3 separate regions of the Homo sapiens genome follow, and regions 2 and 3 are each linked to region 1. The links are contacts of gene promoters, found by promoter capture Hi-C in blood cells and fetal thymus (Javierre and others, 2016). All regions are on one chromosome and are shown on one strand. Each heading gives the region's core, a stretch centred on a gene start or on the middle of the fragment in contact. The rest is flanking DNA. Distances are from core to core; before and after follow the strand shown.

Region 1 (2,700 bases), core at 64-2,563:
CTCCTCACCCCCAAAAATGGTACCCAGACTCCAAACCCCCTCTTTTGATAAAGGCTCTGCGTGGCAGATGCCCACAGTACTCTACAAACTGCTGCCCCACTTGCCAATCTGCATTGTCAGTTACCTGCTTACCAGTTTCTCCTCCCCCACCCCACTCCTCCACAGCCAGTATATTCCTCAAGATCCCAAGAGGCAGTGATTACCCGTGCAAATAGAGTAAGTTTTAAGCACGCAGGCAAGTCTTCTGTTCAAATAAACTACTTAAAATATCTAATTATTTCTCATTCTGCATCTGTACAGTATTTAAAAGGGCAGTTAAAATTAACATTCCAAAGTCAACTGTAGTAGAAATTTTGTAAACGGAATCTATTTCAATGCAACCAGCAACGGCAGATGAAAAGTAATGTTAAAGTCAACATCTGTATATCAATTATTGATATTCGCATCAAAAGCTCAACGATGAAGAAACAGGGCCCCGTTATCAGCTGTTCTTCAAACCTTTCTAGGGAAAAAAAAACCTGGGCAGATTTAGGTGTCACCGTCAGCTCCTGACCTACATCTGCCGTCACTCAAGGCTCCTCCAGAGAGAAGCTTCCAGGAGAACCCGGTCTCGGGGATGCGGCGGGCGGGCCAGCGGGCGGGGCGTTTCTGGAGTCCTTACAGGGGTCGCCACAGCTCCTTGCCCCCTCTCTTCTTCTCCATCCCCGTTCCCTCTCCCTCTACTCCTCGCTCCCTTCACCAGCCCCCCTCTCTCCCTCGGTCCCCGTCCTCGTCTTTCCCCTATTCCTACTCTCCCCTCAGGTCCCCATCCCCTTCTCCGCCCTCCCGGGGCGGCCCCCGCTCCCACGTGACCGGCGGCGGGCGGGGCGGGCCGCGGGCGCGTCGGGGGTCGACGGGCGCCGTTCGGGCCGCGAACCCGCGCCCTGAGAACGTCCCGGGATTCCCGAGGCGGCCACGGGCGGCGCGAGGGCAGGCGGCGGGCGTGGGTGTGGGCTGGGTACCGGCGGGGGCGGGGCTCGGAGGGGACCAGACTGGGGCGGGGGCCAGGACCGGGGCAGGGGGCGTCGCCGCGCGGGCCCGCGCCGGGCCGGGCCGTACCTACCGCTTGGCGCCCGAGGAGCACCGCGTCTCCGCTGCTGCCTCTCGCAGGGCTGCCGCGTCTTCCGCCGAGCGCAGCCGCGTCCCGTGGGGCCGCCTGCGCCCGCCCGCGCCTCCGCCCCGCGCGGCGGGACCCCCGCCTCAGCGCGCGCCCACCCCCAGCGCGACTGGTCCCCTCCTCCCGCGCAGCCAGAAAGAGAAAATGGCGCTCGATTGGCCTCAGGAAGTGACGTTGGCCCTCATTTGCATGTAGGCGCAGCCAGCCAATGAGAGCAGAGTGTGCTTGGGGGCCCCTGGCACTTCCCACAGGCCCCCCGGGGCCCCTGGCTAAAGATGGACTGGAGGCTCTGGGGTGGCAGTGGGGGGCCCCTGTTGGACCCCCTGACTCCCTTCTGTCCCAGGGAACTGCCCTGCCAGCTCCTTTCCACATCTGTGCAAACTCTCGTGAGAGTTTGAGTGGGCAATGACGTCACTAAAGGGGTGGGGAGAGTGTGTCATCAACCATGTGACTAATCACGTGGACTCACCACAGCTTTGACTTCATTTGCATGGAATGGGGTGGAGCTAGTGGCAGCTCCAGGAGTGGTGACCCCGCCCACATCTCAGAGCCAATGGGAGCCCAACTGTGATAATGCTGCCTTGCCATTGGAAGACAAAACTTTGGCTCCCAGAACTGGGACAAGTGTGCCATGATTGGCATATCCTGGTGAACCGACTAGCTGGGGTCTCCTGACTTCATCATTCCTGTGGGAAAGTGATCACACCTTCTCTTGAGAATTCTGATTTTTAGATCTACTACAAGTTGTGTGGGGAGAGGGTTAATTGCATACATTTGTATAAACTCTTAACCTAAAAGTTCATTTTTGCACAGGTGTTTATCAATTGTGTAGCAATAATAATTTATTCCACAAAATTAGTGGAAACATGGCGTAGGGCTTTCAAAATGGCTCTAGGTCTTCGTTCCGTGGAGTCCCCAGGCCTCTGGCGGACGCCCTCGTGCCCCAGAGCACGTGGGAGTAACCACGAGGGCAGCGCAGGCGCCTCCCCCAGTGCCCCTAACCTTAACCCTAATTCTGACCCTGCACCTGAACCTCACCTAGCACTAACCCTGACTCTGACCCTAACTCCCCTCCAGTGTTCCTTCCCCTGACCCTAACTCAGCCGCGCCCTCAGTGGCTGTTCCAGGCAGTTCCTTCTTGGCGAAGCCGTCTGCAGGACACGTGCCCCTTTCAGCACAAGGCCACGTCTCCTTCCAGAGCGCCGAGCCCCTGCAACCCGCCGCCAGCCTCCAGCCCTGAGGCCCACTCCAGCCACCGCGGGGCAGAGGCCGTGCCCAGGCTGGGCCTTCCGCCCACCGCCCTCTCCAGAGCCTCCTTGTCACCATCCGCTCGTCCATAATTTCAGCTTTTCCCTCTCAATGGGAGCCTTCTGCTCAGTTTAGCCCAGTGACTAAACACATAATAGGCACTAAATTAATGTCCATATTCGTTTTAAAACTGTGTTAAATGGTGGGCCGATATGACCTGACCAAAATTTGCTTTTTTCCTACATGAATACAAGTCATAATTGAAGTAGAGTTTGCCCTTTATGTTTGCTGACAAG
Region 2 (2,700 bases), core at 155-2,654, about 80 Mb after region 1:
ACTCTAGCCTGGGCAATAAGAGTGAGACTCTGTCTCAAAAAAAAAAAAAAAAAAAAGAGAGAAAAATCAATTGTATTTTTACATTCTAGCCATGAACACTGGAAATATTTTTTAATATTATTTTAAGCAGCGAACAAATGTTAAGTTCCAATAATTTAAGAGAAGTCATGCAAGGGCTGGGCACAGTGACTCACACCTGTTAATCCCAGCACTTTGGGAGGCCAAGGCAGGAGGATCGCTTGAGCCCTGGAGTTCAAGACCAGCCTGGGCAACATAGTGACACCCCCATCTCTACAAAAAATAATTAAAATTAATTAATTAACTGGGCATGGTAACACCCGCCTGTGGTCCCAGCTACTTGGAAGGCTGAGATGGAAGGACTGCTTGAGGCTGGGAGTTTAAAGCTGCAGCGAGCCATGACCATGCCACTGTGCTCCGGCATACGTGAGAGTGAGACCCTGTCTCAAAAAAAAAACCACTCATGCAAAACCTCTATGTTTAAAAACTACAACTCTGCTAAGAGAAAAACAGAGACCTAAATAAATAAGGAAGTACATCATATTCAGGGATTTTAATACTCAATATTGTTAAGATGTTTATTCTCCCCAAATTGAGCTACAGATTCAATGTAATCTCAAACAAAATCTCAAAGAGGAGAAAGTTGGAGAGCATAAGAACATATACTATCTTATTTCAAGACTCTTTTTTTGGAGACGGAGTCTCGCTCTGTTGCCAGGCTGGAGTGCAGTGGCACGATCTCGGCTCACTGCAATCTCCGCCTCCCAGGTTCAAGTGATTCTCCTGCCTCCTGCCTCTGCCTCCCGCCTCAGCCTCCCACCTCAGCCTCCCGAGTAGCTAGGATTACAGGCGTGCACCACCACACCCAGCTAATTTTTTTTTCAAGGCTTTTATTATAAAGCTTTAGTAATCAAAACCATTTGGTACTAGTGTAACTTTAATCTACTAGATCAATGAAACAAAAACCCAAAAACAAACCTATAACTACTTTTCAAGAAAGAGCCCAACACAAGTCAATGGGAAAAGGTAAGTATTTTCAACAGATAGTGCTGGAACAACTGGATATACACATGAAAAAAAGTCATCTGGAATGTATTTTGGTATCATAATGAGGTTACTGCATTATAATAAACGTTCATAAGATAATACTTACATTTTTTATTTTGATGTTTCCCCAATCATCATCCTGTTTCAAAGACAAACAAAAGACATTTAACCACCACTGTACAAGCTGAACACAATCTAATAATCAATTTATTTTAATGTACTTCAAAACAGAATAAAATTTATCCTATATGCAGATTTTATTTAAAATTATGGCAATTAAAAAAATTTTTTTTGGCCAGGCACAGTGGCTCACGCCTGTAATCCCAGCACTTTGGGAGGCTGAGGCAGGCAAATCACCTGCGGTCAGGAGTTCGAAACCAGCCGGACCAATATAAAGAAACTCCATCTCTACTAAAAATACAAAAAGTAGCTGAGCATGGTGGTGCACACCTGTAATTCCAGCTACTCGGGAGGCTGAGACAAGATAATTGCTTGAACCCAGGAGGCAGAGGTTACAGTGAGCCGAGATCTCACCACTGCACTCCAGCCTGGGCAACAGAACAAGGCTCCATCTCAAAAAAAAACAAAAATTTTTTTTAAACACAAGTGGTACTAAAGCCAGGGTTTCAAATAATTTGCTTCAACTGCATAAGGTAACACAATACAAAAGGCAGTAACCTGTATTTACAGCATCAAATACTAAAAAACACATAAGTATAAAAAAATACTTTTAGCAAGTACTAAAAAACACTTGACTAATGACAAATGATAGATCCTATTTTTTGGATGTTTGGAACCAGCAGAGCTAATAAATAACAAGCTTACGTGGCAAGAATGAAGAGTTAATGTCTATAACGCATCTATAAAGCAAGTATATACTTTCCTTTCAATATGTTGAATAAAAATCAAGAATTTTTTTTTTAAATGCATGATTAGTCCAGAGTAATATTTTTACTAACTACAGCTAGGCCTTTCCCCTCATAGGATAAAGTCGATTCTATATTACTCCCTTTTATAGAAGGTATCGGGTACCCAATATGCTTGTCTACCCTTCATTGGTGCCACTAATTATCTCTTTTATCTGCTTTAAAATGGAACGGTAACTTCCTAAAGGCCCTTCTCAATTTAAGGTCTATGACTGCTAAACATAATGAATGATAACTATAAATGCCCCCTAAGATCACTTACCCAAGGTCACACAAAACTGGGAAGTGAACACAGATCTGCTTGATGTATAAATCATATGCTCTTTTGGTGCCTTACTATGTTACTTAAACCTCTTTGACACTCATTTATAAAATTTCCTCATATATAAGATATGGATAACATACAGCTGAGAATTAAAGAAAATATAATAAAAGCCTGACATAAAATAAGTACTCAATAAATGGTAACCATTAGCAGTCACAGTTTCATTTAATTCGCATACTTCTATAATTCTCGACAGCATACCACTAGTACAGTGTTCAGCATAGATTAGGCTATGAAGTTCACTAAAGGCCAAAGGTTCATACTGTACCTTCGGGGGTAAACAAAGATTTTCCTCCAACGTGTGTTTTACTGCCCAGTGGGGGTAGCCTGTCTTTATCTCTAAAGTTAACTATAGATCTTTAGCATTTTATCTAACCCTTGAAG
Region 3 (2,712 bases), core at 47-2,546, about 80 Mb after region 1:
GGAAGGTTCTAGAGAAATATAGAAAAAGCAAAACCTGGCTGGGCACAGTGGTTCACACCTATAATCCCAGCACTTTGGGAGGCCAATGCAGGTGAATTGCTTGAGCTCAGGAATTGAAGACCAGCCTGGGCAACGTGACAAAACTCTATCTCTACAAAATTACAAAAAAGTAGTCAAGTGTGGTGGCGGGTGCCTGTAGTCCCAGCTACTCAGGAGGCTGAAGTGGGAGAACTGCTTGAGCCCAGGAGGCAGAGGTTGCAGTGAGCCAAGATCGGACCACTGCACTCCAGCCTGGAGACAGAGCAAGACTCTGTAAAAACAAAAAACAAAAAACAAAAAAAAAAAAAAAGAAGAAGGAGGAGGAGGAGAAGAAGGAGGAGGAGGAGAAGAAAGTGGCTCACACCTGTAATCCTAGCACTTTGAGAGGCTGCGGTGGATCAGTTGAGCCCAGAAGCACAATACAAGCCTGGCCAACATGGGAAAGCCCCGTCTTTACAAAAAATAAAAAATTAGCTGGGTTTGGTGGTGCACACCTGTAGTTGCAGCTACTCTGGAGGCTGAAGTGGGAGGATAGATGAAGCCCGGGAGGTTAAAGCTGCAGTGGGTTGTGACTGCACCACTGTACTCCAGCCTGGGTGACAGAGCAAGACGCTGTCTCAAAAAAAAGCAAAATCCCAAAGCAATCAAATTCATCAATTCAACAATTATTTATTGACTGTCTACTTAGGGACCCGGCATTCCAGGAATTCACAGTCTATCAGAAAATGTAGAAAACAATTGCTGAGTGCGGTGGCTCACGCCTGTAATCCCAGCACTTTTGGAGGCTGAGGCGGGAGGATCACTGGAGCCGAGGACTTCGAAACCAGCCTGGGCAACATGGTGAAACCACATCTCTACAAAAAATACAAAAACTAGCTGGGCATGGTGGCACACGCCTATGGTCCCAGCTAGTTGAGGGCTGAGGTGGGAGAATTGCTTGAGCCCGGGAGGCAGAGGTTGCAGTGAGTCAAGATCATGCCGCTGCCCTCCAGCCTGGGTGACAGAGCGAGACCCTGTCTCAAAAAAAAAAAAATGTAGAAAAGTAGAAAAAATTATTAAAATATATAGCAACTATGCATGTGGGTGGTAGAAGGGAAACTAGAGCAGAATGGAGGACCTCTATGTGGGGCTGTGGTAATAGATAAGGTAGCTGGCAATATGGGACAAGATTACGAGAGCCTGAGTGCCAGGATTAAAAGACTAGTCTCAATTAGGTGGGGTTTTCTATCTTCTTAAAATTACTATTCCTCACAAAGAAGAAAAATAATATTGAAATGTCCGTGTAGACCGGGTGCAGTGGCTCATGCCTGCAATCCCAGCACTTTGGGAAGCCAAGGCGGGTGAATCACTTGAGGTCAGGAGTTCGAGACCAGCCTGGCCAACATGGTGAAACCCTCTCTCTACTAAACATACAAAAATTAGCCAGCGTTGTGGCGCTGGCCTGTAGTCCCAGCTACTAGGGAGGCTGAGGCAGGAAAATCGCTTGAACCCAGGAGGCGGAGGTTACAGTGAACTGAGACTGTGCTGCTGCACTCCAGCCTGGGCAACAAAGTGAGACCCTTTCTCAAAAAAAAAAAAAAGTCTGTGTACTCAACTGTTGCAGATGATCTCTTATTCCAAAGCAAAGCCCTAACCTGAATCAAAAAGCCTTACATAGGGCTCCCCATGAGTTAAGGCAGAAAGACCCCTTTAATGTTACCTACTTTTTAAAAAATTAGTAAAGCAATACCCATACGAGGTTTAAAATTCAAACAGTAACAGGAAAACATTTAAAGTAAAACAAAACTCTCCTATCTCATTCCACCTACAATCTCACTTCTCATCAGCAACTGACTTTAACTCTTTCTGATTTTAGCTCTCCTGGTGGTCACCTCTATAATTCTGAATAATATGCTTATAACTCTATTTAATTTATCAAGTGTAAGCAATATCTGTTGAACCCCAGTGTAAACAATGAGGATGTGGGTCAGTTATGCTGTATTTTGCCTCCCCTTCTTCCTCTTTCTTCTCAATTTTATTTTATTTTATTTTTTGGTTAGAGACAGGGTCTCACTCTGTCACCTAGGCTGGAGTGCAGTGGCCGGATCCTGGATCACCACAGGCTTGAACTCCTGGGCTTAAGTGATCCTCCTGCCTCAGCTTCCCAAGTAGCTGGGACCTCAGGCACGTGCCATCATGTCCAGCTAATTTTTTTATTTTCACTTTTTGTAGAGAGGGGATCTAACTATGTTGCCCAGGCTGGTCTTGAACTCCTGATCCAAATGATCTGCCTGTTTCATCCTTCCAAAGTGCTAGGATTATAGGTATGAGCTACCATGCCTGGTTCCCAATTTTTAATAATTAGGTTGTAGTTATTTTGTTGGTTACTTTTACTTTTTTTTTCTTTCTTTTTTTTTTTTTTTTTGAGACAGGGTCTCACTTTCTTGCCGAGCGTGATCACAGCTCACTGCAGCCTTGACCTTCTGGGCTCGGGTGATCCTTCCACTTCAGCCTCTTGAGTACCTGGGACTATAGGTGTGCACCACCACACCCAGCTTTTTTTTTTTTTTTTTTTTTTTTTGAGGCTGAGTCTCGCTCTGTTACCCAGGCTGGATGTAGTGGCGCGAGCTCTGCTCACTGCAAGCTCCGCCTCCCGGGTTCACGCCATTCTCCTGCCTCAGCCTCCCGAGTAGC

Evidence for each region. Contacts are between HindIII fragments. The CHiCAGO score rates a contact against its expected background, and 5 or more counts as called.
Region 2: a fragment that was not itself captured here is called in contact with the fragment with the promoter of ADNP2 in region 1 in 1 of 17 cell types (naive B cells); the score reaches 5.5 in naive B cells.
Region 3: a fragment that was not itself captured here is called in contact with the fragment with the promoter of ADNP2 in region 1 in 1 of 17 cell types (naive CD8 T cells); the score reaches 6.0 in naive CD8 T cells.

The regions. Positions count from the first base shown.
Region 1 is chr18:80,107,875-80,110,574 of GRCh38, reverse strand. ADNP2 (ADNP homeobox 2) reads right to left here and starts at 1,313. Exons shown (of 4, transcript NM_014913.4): 1 at 1,103-1,313. RefSeq lists silencers at 792-891, 1,092-1,251 and enhancers at 1,061-1,562, 2,389-2,700. The HindIII fragment of the contact is 4,212 bases long and covers 594-2,700 here.
Region 2 is chr18:165,291-167,990 of GRCh38, reverse strand. USP14 (ubiquitin specific peptidase 14) reads right to left here. Exons shown (of 16, transcript NM_005151.4): 3 at 1,172-1,204. Among named protein-coding and RNA genes, the nearest start is that of USP14, 8.1 kb to the right of the region's middle. The HindIII fragment of the contact is 966 bases long and covers 922-1,887 here.
Region 3 is chr18:147,529-150,240 of GRCh38, reverse strand. No RefSeq gene overlaps it. Among named protein-coding and RNA genes, the nearest start is that of USP14, 9.7 kb to the left of the region's middle. The HindIII fragment of the contact is 5,883 bases long and covers 1-2,712 here.